2 separate regions of the Homo sapiens genome follow, and region 2 is linked to region 1. The links are contacts of gene promoters, found by promoter capture Hi-C in blood cells and fetal thymus (Javierre and others, 2016). All regions are on one chromosome and are shown on one strand. Each heading gives the region's core, a stretch centred on a gene start or on the middle of the fragment in contact. The rest is flanking DNA. Distances are from core to core; before and after follow the strand shown.

Evidence for each region. The method cuts DNA at HindIII sites, captures the fragments that hold promoters and counts their contacts. A CHiCAGO score of 5 or more calls a contact.
Region 2: a fragment that was not itself captured here is called in contact with the fragment with the promoter of CUX1 in region 1 in 1 of 17 cell types (neutrophils); the score reaches 8.3 in neutrophils.

What each region holds. Positions count from the first base shown.
Region 1 is chr7:101,815,486-101,819,042 of GRCh38, forward strand. It overlaps CUX1 (cut like homeobox 1), which reads left to right and starts at 2,141. Exons shown (of 24, transcript NM_181552.4): 1 at 2,141-2,184. The coding sequence starts at 2,155. RefSeq lists silencers at 1,151-1,310, 1,421-1,740, 1,811-1,890, 1,921-1,990, 2,041-2,090 and 2 more and an enhancer at 397-1,325. The HindIII fragment of the contact is 10,531 bases long and covers 1-3,557 here.
Region 2 is chr7:102,387,795-102,391,441 of GRCh38, forward strand. All of the region lies in intron 4 of LOC100630923 (LOC100289561-PRKRIP1 readthrough), which reads left to right. Among named protein-coding and RNA genes, the nearest start is that of PRKRIP1, 6.7 kb to the right of the region's middle. The HindIII fragment of the contact is 9,075 bases long and covers 1-3,647 here.

The DNA of each region.
Region 1 (3,557 bases), core at 891-3,390:
GCTCTGTACACTAACCACTACAGGGGCGCTCCGACGTTCCCCCCAACCGGAGTCTTGAAGGCGCTGCGCTCGGCCACCGCGGGCGATCGCGATCCCAGCGGGAGACCCCCCCCACCCCCGCAGCCCTCCCCAGGTGCGCGGTGCCGGGGGACCCCGGGCGCTGCCCTCCAGCGCCCCCTCGGGGCCGGGTCTGTGGCCGGCGCGACCGCGGACTTTGGGGGGGGTTGTCCCGAGGGGCGGGGGTCGCCGGTCGGCCCGCGGAGGGGAGGGGGAGGGCGGCGGTGGGGGGGTTGGGGGAGCAGGGGCCGGGGCCGCGCGCGCGAGGCCGGGCCGCGGCCGCCGCGCCCTGGGGCTGCGACTCCGGCTCCGGCTCGGGCTCGCCATGGCTGCGGCGGTGCCGTGAGGAGGAGTCCGCGTCCTCGGTGGCGGCGGCGGCGGCCGGCTCCAGGCCGGGTTTTGGCGCCGCCCGCCTGCTGCCTCCTGGCGGCTCCTGAACTCCAGCCCCCTCTCTATCAGCCGCTCACTCCGTCTCAATATGTCTCAAGATGGCGGCCAATGTGGGATCGATGTTTCAATATTGGAAGCGCTTTGATTTACAGCAGCTGCAGGTCAGGCTCCTCCGCGCTCGGCCTCGCGCCCGGGGGTGGGGGCTGCGGGCGGTCGCGGCCTCCGCCGGGGGCCCCGGGCTGGCCCAGCCGCCGGGGGGCCCGCGGCGGCGGGGAGGAGGGGGGTGCCGGGCACCGCGGGGCCGAGTCGGGGCCGAGTCCCTCCCGCTCCCCGGCCCCCATTGATCACTCGCTTGATCGGAAATTGATCCTCTTTGTTCAATTCATCGATCAGCCCAAGATGGCGCCGGGAGCCGCCGCCGCCACCACTGCCCCCGGTGTCTGCCCCCACCCCGGGCGCCCCCCCGGGCCCCGCGCCGCCGCCGCCGCCAGCGCCGCCGCCGCCGTTGCCGCCGCGGGACCGGGGAGGGGGCGGCCCCGGCGGCCCGCGGGGTGCGCGCGCGAGCGGGGAGCGGGGAGCGGGCGGCGGGGGGCGGGCGGCGGCGGGCGCCGGGAGGGGGCCGCGGCCCGGCGGTGGCGCCCGCCCGCCCGCTCGCCCCGCGCCCCCGGCCCGCCGTATTCCCGGGGAAAGTTTGTGGGGAGTTGCTGCGGGGGGTGAAGCGCCTGCCTCTCCAGGAGGAGCCGCCGCCACTGCCGCCGGCGCGGCGGAGCTGGGGCTGGTGGCGCTGTGGTGCCGCCGGCTCGGGGGAGGGTCAGAGCGGCCACCGGCGGCGGCGGCGGCGGCGCGGCCCGGCTCCGGCCAGGCGGGCGGGTGGCCGGGCAGGCGCCCGCGCTCGCTACCCCCGGCCGGCCCCGGCCGCCGCCCCCGGCTGTCACCGGCCCGGGCCGCGCCGCCGCTCCGGCACCCCGCGTGTGGCTCCCGGCGCGGACCCCCGGGTTTGTTTACGTCCCGGGGAGCGCCCCGGGGCCACCCGCGCACCTCGCGGCCGCCGCGCTCTTTTGTGTGCCTGTGTCGGTGACGCGGACCTGTTCCTCCGTGGCGGACCCCCGCGGGGGCTCTTTGGGGAAACTTGGCGAGGGGCGGCGGGGGTGCCCCGCGCGCAGTGTCGCTGGGTCCCGGTGTCCCGGACCGCCGGGTGCGGGCGCGGGAGGAGGAGGCTGCAACTTTCCCCTAGGCAGGCCCCAAGCTGTTCCCCCGGGTGCCCGGGCAGTGTACGCTGCCTCCCCGCCGCCGGTCCGAGCCGCGATCGCCGCGCGCCTGGGGGCTCCGGCGGCCCCCGGTGACCTGCGGCGCCGGGTCCCTTCCTTGCGTCCCCTCGGGGCTTCTGCCCTCTCTGCAGGGCCCGCCATGGAGCGCGCGGCGGGTGCGCTCGGAGATGCCTTCTCGGGCCGGGTTCTCGAAAGCAGAGCCCCGGGGGCCCGTTGGGACCGTGGCATGCCGGGCGGTGGTCCGCGCGCGGAGTCCCCGGCGCCGCGGGGGGACCGTGCCGGGGCTCCCCGGCCCGCGCCCGAGTCGCCGCCGTGCCCAAGGGGCGAGTGCCTGCCTGCCACCCCCCGCCCGGAGGAGCGGCGCACCCTTAGGGTCCGCCCCGCACGTGCCAGCTCGGCGCCCGCGGCGCCGGGACAGCCCCGGGACTCTGCCAGGTGGATGTTGTGCGTAGCCGGAGCCAGGTTGAAGGTGAGCGGCGTGTGGGCCAGAAGTCCCGAGGTTGCAGGCGCGGAGGGAACCGGGGATGTCGGGGGGTGCCCGGGTCCCGCGGCTTAGAATGCTCTAGGGCGGCCTGGTGCTCTGGGAGGGGATAGGAGGGTTCCTCAGGGCCCCTGGGGAACTGCAGCTACTCCCAACTGCTAAGGTGTGCGTGAAGATAAACTTGGCTGAACTTTCCTAACCTGGAGGACTGGTGACAGTGACCTACCGCAATACCTTTGGGAGCAAAGCTCGAGATGCAGGCTTGTATCAAACGAAGCGGGTTGGATTAAAACATATTTAAATGGAATCTGACAACTTTAATTGTATATGCTTGTTTTCTGCTCTTGCCTACTAAGAACGATAAAGCCGAGTCATAGTCGTTATGAAATTTCCTGAAATTTCTCGCTTAACTAGGAAGAAGACTATGCGAAATATGTATTTCCGATAAGATTAAAACTTAAAGGAGTTTAAGTATTTATTGACTAAAATAGATTACTCCAAAGTGTCTATTGTGTAAATTAGATTCCTGGATGTAATGAACACAGCCGAATGGCATTTTTGATAAATTGGTCTACCCTGTTTTAGTAAAAATAGCTCCCTTTTACCATAATTTAATTCCTGTGCTTACTGTAAAACCCGTTGTGGAGTTTTAAGGACAAACATTATTATTATTTTTCTCTCTTGTCTTCCTAAATGTGACATCCTAGCTTAATATCAATGAAGTGTCTTTTTTAAAGCATCCTGGCAAAATTGCCTGGAAAATGGATTTGGTTTCTAGAGTTACTAGATTTTAAGAACTCTAAACCTTCCTGTCCCCCATATTAGCTACTTCTTCAGGGGATCAGGGCTCCAGGGTTCCATCGAAAGTTTCCATGTCAGTTTACTTGCACTTTATGTGGATATTAAGAAGAAATCAAAACCAAACCCCAAAACAAAGTCCCTTATTTGAACTTCATTCCTCTTTACTCCTTTGCTTTTGGTGGTTGCTAACGATTTGGCCTTAGATGATTTCCTATGGGTTTGCAAACTTTAGTCGAATACGGAATGTCAAAGTTCAAGTCTCAGGCCAATCTGGTTCTTTCTCTGGGCGGTGAGGAGGCCTTTGGAGTTGGTGTCTGGTTAATTCCCACCGATAGTCAGTGAGTCAATAGAACGAGTTTGGGAGAGAATTCATTAGTTCCAGATTTTTCTCATTTTTCCAGACCTCTTTATACTGAGATTGGGTTGCCACCTGGGGGTAAAGAGGCTGATCGGTCTTTGCAGAGAGAAATCCAGGTTGGAGACGTCAGCGGGTCCAGGTGAGGTTGGGCCGTTCCGCAGTTCTGCAACCCTGGCTCACTGGGTTCTTGTCCCTCGGCTTC
Region 2 (3,647 bases), core at 1-2,500, 570 kb after region 1:
CCTGGGCGACAGCGAGACTCCGTCTCAAAAAAATAAATAAAATAAAATAAAATAAAAATTAGCCAGGCGTGGTGATGTGCTCCTGTAGTCCCAGCTACTCAGGAGGCTGAGTTGGGAGGTTCACTTGAGCCCAGGAGGTTGAGGCTGCAGTGAGTTATGATTGCCCCACTGCCCTCCAGCCTGGATGACACAGCGAGACTCTGTCTCAAAAATAATAATAATAAGTAAACCAATAAATAAAAAGAAGTGTGGGGGCTTCAACCACATTGGCCTCTGGGTTTTCAAAAACCTGTCACCCCAAGCCTTGGCCTTATGGTGAGCAGGGCAGATTTACAGGCCCGAGCTGCCTCAGAGGGCACAAGGAGCTAAAGGCTGAACTCCTCACGAAAGCAACTCAGACAATGGAGGGTTAGCTCCCCTGCAACCTGGCAAATCCACACTGTAAATTAGGTCAAGTTTATTGAGGTACAATGTTCATATGATTAAATCCACCCTTTTAAAGTATATGGTTCAAGTCCAGGCACAGTGGCTCACACCTGTAATCCCAGGACTCTGGTTTGAGACCAGCTTGGGCAACATAGTGAGACCCCCATCTCTACAAAAAAACAAAACCAAAAAATACAAAAATTAGCTGCACATGGTGGTGCGTGCCTGTAGTCCCAGCTACTCGGGAAGCTGAGATGGGAGGATTGCTTGAGGCTGAGAGGCAGAAGTTACAGTGAGCAGAGATCGAGACACTGCACTCCAGTGTGGGCGACAGAGTGAAACTCTGTCTATGAATAAATAAATAGAAGTATATGGTTAAATAAGTTTGATAAATGTGGATGGTTGTGTAGCTGCCACCACAATTCAGATATAGAACATTTTTGTCATCCAAATATTATGCAGAGAGGCCAGGTGCAGTGGATCATGCCTATAATCCCAGTGCTTTGGGATTCTGGGGATAGAAGGATCACTGGAAGCCAGGAGTTTGAGACCAGCCTGGGCAATACAGCAAGACATCATCTCTACAAAAATAATAATAATAATAAAGTAAAAATAGCCAGGTGTGGTGGTGTGCACCAATAGTCCCAGCTATTCAGGAGGCTGTGGCAGGAGGATCACTGAAGCCCAGGAGTTTGAGGCTGCAATGGGCTATGGTCACGCCACTGCGCTCCAGTCTAGGCAACAGAGTGAGACACCATCTCAAAAGAAGGAAAGAAGGTAGGAAGGGAGGAAGGGAGGGAGGGAGGGAGGGAGGGGAAAAAATATCTATTACCCAAGAAAGTTCCCTGAGGCCCTCCCAGGTCAGTCCCGTCCTCCTACTTGGCCCATGGCAACTGCTGATCTGTTTTCCATCCCTATCATTTTGGCTTTTCCAGAACATCAAGTAAATGGAACCATTCAGGTTGTGGCCTTCTATTAATAGATCTGACTTCACTCACTAAACATAATGCATCTGAGATCCATCCACGTTATTGCAAGCCTCAAGAGGTCCTTCCTTCCTTTTTCTTTTTTCTTTTTCTTTTTTTTTTTTTTGAGATGGAGTCTCACTCTGTCGCCCAGGCTGGAGTGCAGTGGCACGAGCTCGGCTCACTGCAAGCTCCGCCTCCCGGGTTCACGCCATTCTCCTGCCTCAGCCTCCTGAATAGCTGGGACTATTGGTGCACACCACCACACCTGGCTAATTTTTTTGTATTTTTAGTAGAGACTGGGTTTCACCCTGTTAGCCAGGATGGTCTTGATCTCCTGACCTCGTGATCTGCCCGCCTCGGCCTCCAAAAGTGCTGGGATTACAGGCATGAGCCACCACACCTGGTCCCCTTTTTTTTTGAGATGGGGTCTCACTGTCGCCCAGGCTGAGTGCAGTGGTATGATATCTTAATCCACCTTCTTAATCCGACTCACTGCAACCTCCGCCTCCTGGGTTCAAGCAATCCTCCTGCCTCAGCCTTCCAAGTACCTGAGATTACAGGTGCACACCACCATGCCCAGCTAATTTTTGTATTTTTAGTAGAGATAGGCTTTCATCTTGTTGGCCAGGCTGGTCTTGAACTCCCGGCCTCAAGTGATCCTCCCTCTTCAGCCTCCTAAAGTGCTGGGATTACAGTCATGAGCCACCGCACTCAGCAAAAGCTCCTTCCTTTTATTGCTAAGTAGTATTTCCCTGTAGGTCTAGATCTCAATTTGATGGACATATGGGTTGTTTCCAGTTTTTGGCAATTATGAATCAAGCTACTGTTTGTATTTGCATACAGGTCAGTCAGTGGACATATATTTTCATTTCTCTAGTTTGAGACCAGCCTGGGTAACGAGAGTGAAACTCTGTCTCAAAAAAAAAAAGAAAAGAAAAGAAAAAAAGAAAAAAGAAAAAAAACCCTGCTGTTTTAGTACTTAAAGTATCAACCACTACTCAAAGAATTGAGATAGGAGTACCCACTCGTCTAGGGTAATCAACCATCCTGGCTTGCCCAAGATTCTCCTGGTTTTAGCACTGAAGGTCCCACTTTCTGGGAAACCCTTCAGTCCTAGGATCAAACTAGGACAAGTGTGGTCACCTATTTTTTTTTTTTTTTTTCAGACAGAGTCTCTCTCTGTCTCCCAGGCTGGAGTGCAGAGGTGCGATTTTGGCTCAGTACAGCCTCCGCCTCCTGGGCTCAAGCAATTCTCCTGCCTCAGCCTCCCGAGTAGGTGGGATTACAGGCAGCTCCCCCCACCCCACACGCCCGGCTAATTTTTTTTGTATTTTTAGTAGAGACGGAGTTTCACCATGTTGGCCAGGCTGGTCTCGAACTCCTGACCTCAGATCATCCACCTGCCTCAGCCTCCCAAAGTGCTGGTATTACAGGCGTGAGCCATGTTATTGAATGTCAGGCTCTGCTGGACACTGCATGTCCAAACGTCATTTTACCCATGTGCCAGCGACAAGGTAGATTCGCTTGTACCAATTTTGCACATAAGGAAACAGCCTTAGAGAGGTTAGGTTGCTTGTGCAAGCCCAGGGTAGGTGGCACCCAGTCTGCCAGTCTGCAACGCACTGGTATCTTCCAGCCAGTAGACCTTGCTCCCTGGGTGCCCAGTTCTGGATCTCAGGAAAGGTGGATTAAGGCTCCTAGTGGCGGGACCTGGGTGGGGATTTGCTGCCCTCTGGTGGCAGAAGGGACATCACCCTGGGTGTGAGACTTGTGGGCATCTGTGAGGCGGCCTTTCATCCCAGGGAGCCGGACCTCAAATCTGACCTCAGCCCCAGGAAGGTGCCACCAGGAAGGTGCCACCTAGGAGGGTGCCACCAGGGTTCCCGCCAGGGTCTGCTGGGGCCCTGTCCCATCTGTGTGAGTCACATAATCACTCAGGCTGTCACAGACCCAGGGCTAGACTGCTGGGTTTGAGTCTGTGTGGCCCTGAGCCAATTGCTTTCTCCTCTGGGCCTCAGTTCCATTTCAGTAGAATCAGGATGATAGCCTGGGCAACATAGCAAGACTCCAGCTCTACCAAATAAATAAATAAATAAATAAATAAATAAATAAATAAATAAAATATTAGGCTGGGCAAGGTGGCTCACGCCTGTAATCCCAGCACTTTGGGAAGCTGAGGCGGGTGGATCACCTGAGATCAGGAGTTCGGGGCCAGCCTGGCCAACATGACGAAACCCTGTCTCTACTAAAAAT